3 separate regions of the Homo sapiens genome follow, and all the other regions are linked to region 1. The links are contacts of gene promoters, found by promoter capture Hi-C in blood cells and fetal thymus (Javierre and others, 2016). All regions are on one chromosome and are shown on one strand. Each heading gives the region's core, a stretch centred on a gene start or on the middle of the fragment in contact. The rest is flanking DNA. Distances are from core to core; before and after follow the strand shown.

Region 1 (3,569 bases), core at 640-3,139:
ATCTGAGTTTTAGGATACGTGCTAAGGTTTGGGTCCCACTATTCTAAAGGAACTCAACAAAAATTCAAGTAAAGATGAAACCGAGTGCTGACTTTGTTCCTTATGGGCCTAAAATAACAAAGCTTTAAAGACAAGAGGGGATTTTTCAATTGTCTAATTGGCTTCGAACCTTACCTGTGGAGGGATCCCAGACACAGAGAAGGTGTCTGAGTTGTCCAAGTCCTCCAGGCCGGACTGAGAGGACAACTCCAAATAATAGAGAAAAAAAAAGAGACAGAGAGCCAGGGATATGGTTGTTTTGATGTGCCATGAAGTTGCAGCCTTTCTGGATTTTTTTAGTATCGATTTATATTGCTGTTTGTCTACCAATACTCAAATCAGAGCAAGACGGTCCGCCTTACCTCAGTCTGGCTCTTTTAAGGTTTGATTTTGGTTTTGGGGACTGCAGAGGTGCAGCTTCCCACGGCAGACCAAGCGCCTCTGAGGAACGCAGCAGCTTCAGCAGGTACAGGAAGATTTCCCGCAGCCGGAGGAATCTCCTAGTGCTGGGCCTCCGGCTGTGACTTTTGCCATTTCAAATTCACTTGGCCTCTAGGGAGAGGCAGACAGCCCGACGCTGAGCGCGTCGGAGCCCCGGCTCCCTCTGCTTCTGGAGAGGAGATTTAGCCTTAATTTTTGTGACAGATGGAGTTGATAGTCTCTCCACGGAAAGGGGAGGAAAAAAGCGCCAGTTTTTGACAGGCCGCAGACGCCCGCTGCCTCTGGTGGCGGAAGGCTGCGTTGCGCCCCAGTTAAGGTAGCTCGGAAACTCCCTCGCCGAGAAGGCAGAGGTTTCCTCTGCAGAGCAGCCTCCCTTAAATATACTGAGGGGCTGAAACTTACACTTTAATATAAACCTTTGGTGCGTGCCCATTTATTCCGTCTTCTGTCCTGTGACTGCGGCCAGGTGGTAATTGCTCGACATTCCTGAATATTTTTAATGCTAGTTAAATTTTTTCATTATTGCACGTGTTGCAAGCTTATCTTCCTAAGAAATTATTTCGGTTGATTGGATTTCGGTCTTGCAATTTGAAAACGATGCCTGGCGCACGGGCGGTACCTGCCAGATGGCCTAGCTGGGGCTGGGGGGTGGCGGGCGGGTTGTAAGCATCTCATCAACATCTCCCTAATAAAGTGTGTGCTTCTTTCTTGTATGCTTCTTTAAAACAGTTTCAGTCTCACATTTTATCTCTGGATTCTCCCCTTCCCCTCTGTGGTGATCAAGACCCAAAGACAGGGAGCCTGGAAGATAAACTGAGTTCTGAATCCAGTCGAAAGCACAGATGGGGGCCAGCGAGAATTAATAAAACTACAAAAAAAAAAAAAAAGAAAAAAAAAACAAACAAAAAAGGCCCGTGGCTGAGCCGGATGCAAACAGCTGCCCCTAAGCCCTGCCCGCTGGTTCTGTGCGCGAGCTGGGGCTGCATATCCGAGCCTCCTTAAGAGTAGGAGGAGCTCCGGGCCTCCGTCAGGCTCCCTAAGCCGTTCCTTTCAAGCCCTGAATGCCTGAATGTGAGCTGCCCACCACCCTCCCGCCCTCCCCCACTCCGCAACCCCACTCCAGCGGCTCGTAAAAAAAAAAAAAAAAACTTTCAACAACAACAGGCAGGACCAATAGCATCTCGAAAAGCCGGGAAAGGGGGCCGAGCAAAGGGCGAAAGAGAGTGGAGAAAGGAGAAAGCGGGCAGGCTCGGAGCGCGCGGGGCCGGGGCTCGGCGAGCCGGAGGAGCGTTGCTAATGTTTTTGTTTGTTTGCTTTTCCATGCATGCATAATGAGGGGGCACCGCGGCACCACGCGGGGGCTCCCGGCCCACTTTTGTATTTAAAGCCTCGCTGCTAACGAGTCTGCAGCCGGGCTCAGCGGATCCGCTCCCCGGGCTCTTGGTCACCCGAGAAGCTGCCGCCGAGTGAAGCCAGGGAGCCGCTCTCCGGCAGCGCCGACTTTCTTGTTCTCCCCGCGCTTCCCGGAAAGAGCTCCCCGGAGCTCTGCGGAGGCCGGGGTTGCCGCGGGCGGAGGGGGAGGGGACGCGGGGCGGCCGGGCCGCGGGAAGGCGGGCAGCGCGCGGACGCCGGGCCAGGAAGCGGCGCGATGCGAGAGACCGCGGCGGCGGTGGCGGCGGCGAGGCACTGAGCCCAGGAGGAAGGAGCCGCCGCGGCCGCAGCGCGAGCAGCCGGCACGGGGACAGCCGGCCGCACAACGGATCTGCAGGCGCGGAGCAAAATGCACCCGCCGCGCCGCGCGGTCCTGCAGCCCCGCCACGGCCCCGCGGCCCGCACCCCCCCGGGGCGACAGTGAGCCTCTCCCGCCACCACCGGGGGCCGAGCGGAGGGCTCTCGGGTGGGAGAGCGGGACCAGATCTCGACAGCTGTTCATTTCCAGGAAGCCACCGCAGCCAGAGCGAAAGGGGACCTTCTGCCACCAGCGGGGCATCAGCCAGCGGCGCGCATGGATTTATGAAGACACTCATGCAAGAAGTGGGCAGGACTTGGACAAACTTTTCCACCGGCTCCGCGTCCGCCGCTCCCCGCGCCTCGTCTCCTTTCCCCTCCTCTCCCGGCGGCCGCCGCTGCCCGCGATGGTGGCCGCGCTGCTGGGCGGCGGCGGCGAGGCCCGCGGGGGGACAGTGCCGGGCGCCTGGCTGTGCCTGATGGCGCTGCTGCAGCTGCTGGGCTCGGCGCCGCGGGGATCGGGGCTGGCGCACGGCCGCCGCCTCATCTGCTGGCAGGCGCTGCTGCAGTGCCAGGGGGAGCCGGAGTGCAGCTACGCCTACAACCAGTACGCCGAGGCGTGCGCGCCGGTGCTGGCGCAGCACGGCGGGGGCGACGCGCCCGGGGCCGCCGCCGCCGCTTTCCCGGCCTCGGCCGCCTCTTTCTCGTCGCGCTGGCGCTGCCCGAGTCACTGCATCTCGGCCCTCATTCAGCTCAACCACACGCGCCGCGGGCCCGCCCTGGAGGACTGTGACTGCGCGCAGGACGAGAACTGCAAGTCCACCAAGCGCGCCATTGAGCCGTGCCTGCCCCGGACGAGCGGCGGCGGCGCGGGCGGCCCCGGCGCGGGCGGGGTCATGGGCTGCACCGAGGCCCGGCGGCGCTGCGACCGCGACAGCCGCTGCAACCTGGCGCTGAGCCGCTACCTGACCTACTGCGGCAAAGTCTTCAACGGGCTGCGCTGCACGGACGAATGCCGCACCGTCATTGAGGACATGCTGGCTATGCCCAAGGCGGCGCTGCTCAACGACTGCGTGTGCGACGGCCTCGAGCGGCCCATCTGCGAGTCGGTCAAGGAGAACATGGCCCGCCTGTGCTTCGGCGCCGAGCTGGGCAACGGCCCCGGCAGCAGCGGCTCGGACGGGGGCCTGGACGACTACTACGATGAGGACTACGATGACGAGCAGCGCACCGGGGGCGCGGGTGGTGAGCAGCCGCTGGACGACGACGACGGCGTCCCGCACCCACCGCGCCCGGGCAGCGGCGCTGCTGCATCGGGCGGCCGCGGGGACCTGCCCTATGGGCCTGGGCGCAGGAGCAGC
Region 2 (3,569 bases), core at 526-3,025, 600 kb after region 1:
CCTGGTAATGTTTTCCAACTTGTCAGATCACAACCCCAGAGTCAGCAATGTTTTATTCTTTTTCATCCAAATGAGTTTTGTTATTTTCAGCAATTTAGTTTCAGTTTTTCACAGTTTCTGTTTTAAGAAATGGTCACTTAGTGTGATTATTTTAAGGATAGTAATCATGATATTTGAGCAGCTAAAACACATTTCATATGTTGATCCCTTTAAAAGTTTACTTTGCCCCAGGGCTCACTTTACGTCAGTAAACATGTTTTCTGTAACGTGTTTTTTACAGAAGAGGGTAGCTATATGCTCCAGGGGACCATATCGTAATTGCTCAGTGGTTTGTGTGTTTTCAAAATTGTGATTATAATTTTGTATTTGAATAATTAATGTGTTCATAATATAAATGACAGAATATAAAGCTTTTTTTAAAAAAAAAACTTATTTGTTGATGTAAAAACACAGTATACACTGCGTATATCTCCTGCCACAAGAGATATATCTTTTGGATGTAGTGTCAGTGTCCCGAGATGGATAATCTGAGATCTTTGTTTTTCAAAAGGGATCGTGACAAACAGGTTGAGAAACAAGTTTAGAAAGTCAGAAATAGATTCAAGCTTTGCTGTTTGGTTTCAGTAAGACCAAAACTAATTTCTCGGTGCCCTCACATGCTTGGTTAATTGCCCCAAAGGGATAATAAGGAGATAATATGTTTTTCTAAAAGTAAAAAGTAGATTTTATCCATGTGGCAACGATTTCTGCAAACAGGAAGGTTATTTTTATCTAATGGGAGATATATACCGAAATGAAATAAAGTCACAAATTGGATGGAAAAAATGAAACAATATCACAGTTGGAAACATGGACTTGTAAGTTTAGTGGCTGAAAGCGTTTTTTAGTGGTTGTATAGAATGTGTTTCAAACTGGCCAGCACTTTTAAATAAATTTTTTTAGTTTAAATGCATTCAGGGAATATGGACACTTTCTAGATCACCCGATGCCTTTTCTCTTCATGTTATCTCACAGTGGCCAGTTCATACACTGGTTACCTATAAGGTGTTTGAATTTGTGTCCCATGCGTATAGAATACTTAAAAGCCAAAAGGTCGTCTTTTATCTTTACAAGGTCTTAGGATAAAAATGAAAGTCTCAAGCACTTATTAATATTAAATGGGGGGAAATGTGCTACTTGATTTTTTTTCTTTTTTCACAGATACTTCTAGTTGTCAGATCTGTTTATTTATATTTTATTTTATTTTTTGAGACGGAGTCTCGCTCTGTCACCCAGGCTGGAGTACAGTGGCGCGATCTTGGCTCACTGCAACCTCTGCCTCCTGGGTTCAAGCGATTCTCCTGTCTCATCCCCCAAAGTAGCTGGGACTACAGGCACATGCCACCACATCAGGCTAATTTTTGTATTTTTAATAGAGACAGGGTTTCACCATGTTGGCCTGACTGGTCTCAAACTCCTAACCTCCAGTGATCCACCCACCTTGGCCTCCCAAAGTGCTGGGATTACAGGCGTGAGCCACCACATTCAGCCTGATTTTTTTTTTTTTTTTTTGAGACAGTCTCACTGTGTCACCCAGGCTGGAGGTGCAGTGATGTGACCTCCTCTCACTGTGGCCTCTGCCTCCCAGGATCAAGCGGTTCTCATGTCTCAGCCTCCCAAGTAGCTGGGACTACAGGTGCACACCACCATGCCCAGCTAATTTTTCTGTTTTTTAATAGAGATAGGGTTTCTCCCTGTTGGCCAGGCTGGTCTTGAACTCCTGACCTCAAGTGATCGACCTGCCTCTGCTTCCCAAAGTGCTGGGATTACAGGCGTGAACTACCGCGCCTGGCCCTCAGATATTTTTAAATTTGAAAATTAAGAGTATATATTAATATCAAGTAGCAGAAACAGAATGAAGTGTTATAAAGGCGTTAAGTAGTAGGGAGACATAAAACTTAAATCTTTAAGCTAGAAATAGCTTGAGGAATTATCTGATGCAGTACTCTGTTGTAATATATCAAAAATGGAATCACAGTTTTACAAATCAGGCAGCTGCAGCTCAGAGAGGTTAAATTTCCACAGACCTGTTTATGCAGCGCGGTAAATGAGGAAGTAGAACTAAAATTGGGGACTCTGCTACTCTGGCCATTAACTCAGCCTCGCTGGACCTGAAATCCTGACGGCGGAGCCGAATATTTCTTGATAATTTCTGGGCTTTTGATTTGTGTTTTTCTTTATTAAAAATTGTGTATATTTAAGTGTTTCTGTATTACTGTCCAGGTGGGATGTGGGTATTTAATTTTGTTACCTATAGTCTTGTAGAAGTTGATCTTGAAAACCATTTCATTTTATTATTATTATTCTCTTTTTTGAGATGGAGTCTCGCTCTGTAGCCCAGGCTGGAGTGCAGTGGTGCGATCTTGGTTCACTGCAACCTCCATCTCCCAGGTTCAAGCAATTCTCTTGCCTCAGCCTCCTGAGTGGCTGGGACTACAGGCACGTGCCACCACACCTAGCTAATTTTTGTATTTTTAGTAGAGTTGGGGTTTTAGCATGTTGGCCAGGGGTAGTCTCGATACCCTGACCTCATGATCTGCCTGCCTTGACGTCCCAAAGTGTTGGGATTACAGGTGTGAGCCACTGCACCCGGCTGAAAAGCATTTTAAAAAGAAAGTTTATAGATCAAAAATTTGCAACTAGACATTAAAAGGAACTGTTGGCTGACCACAAAAACTTTTATATGTTTTCTTATTTTATGTGTATTCTTATAAAAGCAACTAAAGAAGTTGCTTTTAAGTGTATTTGAATAGGAAATGCATTTTGCTATTTTTTTATTGGAGGTAATTCAAAAGTTTGCATGTTTTTGCTGTATGACATACAGGTATATGCTTTCACAGTTATTAAGTAAAGAATTATTCAGTTTCTATCCCTTGAAAATCTTCATATAGGAAGCATTAAGCTTCGGTATAACATTATTTAGTTTAGAGAGATTCAACTGAAAGTATAAACTAAAAAGGATCTCATTAAAGAGATCGAAATTTCTTTATCAAAATTGTGTCTTAATAAGGAAGGGTATTATTCAACAATGTGAGAAGATATAATGGAAATTATGGTGGAGTTGCTTTTTTCCCCCCCACATACGGTACTACCTTCTGTTTTTTTCAGCTCTACATTACTGCCCCTACTTTAGCCTTCAAATGTCCTAGATTGCCAGTTTAATGTATTTGGGACATTGCCATTAATGATCTTAGCTGGAAAGCATCCACTCAAATACACATGTCCTTTGTGAACCATATGCAAATAAAATATGGGAAACTTGGAATGCCGAATATAGAGAACTCTTATTACAATAAATCTGAGGTAAGCCAGGTAGTCTTCCTCCAAGTAATTATGAGAATTTTTCTTTTTTCTTTTTTTTTTTTGAGATGGAGTTTCACTCTTGTCGCCCAGGCTGGAGTGCAATGGCATGATCTCGGTTCACTGCAACCTCTGCCTCCCGAGTTCAAGCAATTCTCCTGCCTCAGCCTCCCGAGTAGCTGGGATTACAGGTGCCTGCCACCACGCCCAGCTAATTTTTGTATTTTTAG
Region 3 (3,569 bases), core at 360-2,859, 530 kb after region 1:
TTGCTCTGAGTTCATCCTCATCGCAGCTTTATGGGAAAAATCACCAAATCCCTGTACAAAGAACTGCTGGGATTTTTTTCTTTAACTCTACTGCCATCTAGTGTTGAGAAAAGAGAATTCTGGACTCTGCAAAAAAGAATGTATATTATTTGCTATTTGCTTGTATATCTAGATTCAAACCTGTTTTATTGCAGAATAAATTTGGAAGCTATATCCACCATGATCTTCTTGTTTTATTTTGGATTCAGTAAAATTTCTAAGAAAAAAACTTCAAAAATTAGGCCATATTTCACATTATCCTGAAGGCAAGATGGACAGTAAGGCTTAGTTTTCCCAGCGACCCTTTGGCCCATTTGGCGTCACAAAGGAGTTCCCCTCTTCCTTCCAGCTATTTGTCTGGTTCTTTGGCATGACTTCTTTGTGATGCTTACTGGTCATTGGCTGTTTCCTGTGACTCCTGTGGGAATGTGAGCTCCCGGAAGGCAGAGATTTTGCCTTTTTTTTTTTTCTTTCCTGCTTTGTTCATTGATATATCCGAAATTACTAGAGCAAAGCCTGGAACATACATGACAAGCATTTAATAATTATTTATTCAATAAATAAAGGAATAAATGAAGGAATGTTGGGAATCATTCTAGAAATGGGTGTAAAGGCATACTAGGGGACTTCGAAAAGGTCATGGGGGCCAGGCACGGTGACTCACGCCTGTAATCCTAGCACTTTGGGAGGCCAAGGCAGGAGGATTACCTAAGGTCAGGAGTTCAAGACCAGCCTGGCCAACAAGGTGAGACCCGGTCTCTACTAAAAATACAAAAATTAGCCAGGCATGATGGTGCACACCTGTAATCCCAGCTACTCAGGATGCTGATGTAGGAGAATCACTTGAACCTGGGAGGCAGATGTTGCAGTGAGCCAAGATCATGCCACTGCAGTCCAGCCTAAACGACAGAGCAAGACTCCGTCTCAAAAAAAAAAAAAAAAAAGAATTAAAAGATAAAAATACCAGCCTGGCCAACATGGTGAAACCCCATCTCTACTAAAAATACAAAAATTAGCCAGGTGTGGTGGTGTGTGCCTGTAATCCCAGCTTCTCGGGAGGCTGAGGCACAAGAATCATTTGTGCCCAGGAGGTGGAGATTGCAGTGAGCCAAGATCGTGCCACTGCATTCCAGCCTGGCCGACAGAGCCAGACTCTGTCTTAAATAAATAAATAAATAAATAAATAAATAAATAAATAAATAATATAAACTTTATTTCCCAACATAAGCTTCATCAAGTTCAAGATACTTTTCTAAGTGATGATACCAACCATTTTGTCCATCCCTAAAGAACTGAGGGTCCTGGGAATTTAACCATGTTCATGTTGTCTTTTCTATGTTATTAACTGAGGAAAAATGGGTGATCTTTAAAGATTTTTTTAAGAATAGAAAACAGAAAGAAGTCAGATGGAGCCAAATCAGGACTGGAGGATAGGCACCTAATGATGTCTCATCAAAACTCTTGCAAGATTGACCTTGTTTGCTGAGAGGAATGAGCAGCAGCATTGTCATGGTAGAGAAAGACTCTCTGGTGAAGCTCTTCCAGGAGTTTTTCTGCTAAAACTTTTGCTAGCTTTCTCAAAATGCTCTCATAATAGTCAGATGTTATTGTCCAGAACATCAACAAGCAAAATGCCTTGAGCATCCCAAAAAACTGTTGCCATAACCTCAGCTCTTGACCCATCGTCTTTTGCTTTGACTGCACCACGTTCACCTCTTGGTAGCCATTGCTTTGATTGTGCCTTGTCTTCAGGACCATACTGGTAAAGCCATGTTTCATCTCCCGTTACTAGTCTGAAGAAATGCTTCAGGATCTTGATCCTATGTATTTAAAATTTCCACGGAAAGCTCGGCTTTTGTCCACAGCTGACCCAGGCACAACTGTTTTGGTACCCATTGAGCGGGAAGCTTGTTCAACTTTAATTTTTTAGTCAGAATTGTGTAAACTGAACCAGTTGAAATGTCGAGAATGTTGGCTATTGTTTGTGCTGTTAATTTTCAGTCCTAATAATGATGTTCCTTTGTCTATGATGATGGCTATTGTTTGTATTGTTGATTAGGGTATGAACAAGAAAATTTTTTCCTTGCAAATTGATGTGGATAGTCTGCTGCTGCAGGCTTCATCTTCAACAATGTTGTCCTTTCTTTTCCTTTTCCTTTTAAGAGACAGGGTCTCACTCTGTCACCCATGTCGGAGTGCAGTAGCACCATTGTAACTCTCTGCAGGCTCAAACTCCTGGGCTTAAGCAATCCTCCTGCCTCAGCCTCCCAAGTAGCTCAGACTGTAGGCATGCACCACCGCACCCAGGTAAATGTTCTATTTTTTGTAGAGAAAGGGTCTCACTTTGTTGCCTAAGCTGGTCTCAAACTCTTGGCCTCAAGCAATCATCCTTGGCCTCTCAAAGTGCTGGGATTATAAGCGTGAGCCACCTCACACGGCCCTGTCCTTTCCTAAAACAAGTTATTCATTTGTAAAATTATCACTTGAAGAATTTTCTCCATAAACTTTTTGTAAAGCATCAGTGATGTTACCATTCTTCCACCCAAGCTTCACCACAAATGTGATGTCTGTTCTTGCTTGAATTTTAGCAGAATCCATGTTTCTCTTATAAGGACTCTTTTCAAACGGATGCATTATCCTCCTTAGTGCCTCAAACTAGACCCTGTTCAGATATATTATAATAAATTAGTACAAGTTTATTTGCTGTAAAAAAAGAATTTTAAATCCATGCACAGTTTTTTCACAATACATATTTTTCATGGACTTTTTGAAGACCCCCTTATATTTGCGGTGTTAGTTTCGCTTTGTGACTGACATCTTTTCTTGTGGGCACAGCACATTTTCATTCACAGGCTACTCCCTGACCTTTGACTCATGATTCCCTCTGGGGAGATGAGCACTATCAGTTATTTGAAGTCTTTGAAATATGATTTGAAATCATATTTCCACTCAAATAAACATTGCTTCTGTTTCTCAAAAACAGAGAGATGGAGAGGAATCATGCAACACTAGATATTACATGAGTAGACATTACAGCACATTATCTGTCCATCAAAAACAGAAATACCAATAGGAACCATGTAATGTTAGAATCAAATGAATTTTTAGAAACCATAAAGCAAACCAGATAAGCTCTTGATTCTCAATTTCAGGCTAAATCTTAAAAATAATATTCTAAAGCAAGAAAAGCAGTTGTAAAGGTTGTTTTGTTTCCTTCTATTTAATATCTAGTTAAAATCTCCTATTTCCTTACATTTTCCTCCTTGTAAATTATACTAAATGTCTTTTCAATCCTTGGCTAAAACAGATAAACTGATAACTTGGAATTTTCTACTCACAGTATAATGAAGAACTCTAAAGAACTCATTTAAAAAATTGGGAATAAGAAGATTACATGAGATGATATCAAAATCTTTACAGGGGGCTATAAAAAGGAAAAGTTTAAGGAAGACAGGTTCCCATCTGAAATTGGAAAAATATCTTTGTGAGGCATTAGAGGAATCTCAGTTCACTACATAAAAATCAAGAAG

What was found. The method cuts DNA at HindIII sites, captures the fragments that hold promoters and counts their contacts. A CHiCAGO score of 5 or more calls a contact.
Region 2: a contact is called between a fragment that was not itself captured here and the fragment with the promoter of GAS1 in region 1, in 1 of 17 cell types (total CD8 T cells). The highest score is 5.0, in total CD8 T cells.
Region 3: a contact is called between a fragment that was not itself captured here and the fragment with the promoter of GAS1 in region 1, in 1 of 17 cell types (endothelial precursors). The highest score is 6.3, in endothelial precursors.

The regions. Positions count from the first base shown.
Region 1 is chr9:86,945,826-86,949,394 of GRCh38, reverse strand. GAS1 (growth arrest specific 1) reads left to right here and starts at 1,889. Exons shown (of 1, transcript NM_002048.3): 1 at 1,889-3,569. The coding sequence starts at 2,616. It overlaps GAS1RR (GAS1 adjacent regulatory RNA), which reads right to left and starts at 697. Exons shown (of 7, transcript NR_049794.1): 1 at 402-697. RefSeq lists silencers at 2,679-2,758, 2,829-2,898. The HindIII fragment of the contact is 4,442 bases long and covers 1,021-3,569 here.
Region 2 is chr9:86,349,115-86,352,683 of GRCh38, reverse strand. It overlaps TUT7 (terminal uridylyl transferase 7), which reads left to right. Exons shown (of 27, transcript NM_024617.4): 2 at 1-4. Among named protein-coding and RNA genes, the nearest start is that of TUT7, 3.5 kb to the left of the region's middle. The HindIII fragment of the contact is 2,336 bases long and covers 608-2,943 here.
Region 3 is chr9:86,410,995-86,414,563 of GRCh38, reverse strand. It overlaps LOC102724080 (a long non-coding RNA gene), which reads right to left and starts at 723. Exons shown (of 2, transcript XR_007061636.1): 1 at 1-723. The HindIII fragment of the contact is 679 bases long and covers 1,270-1,948 here.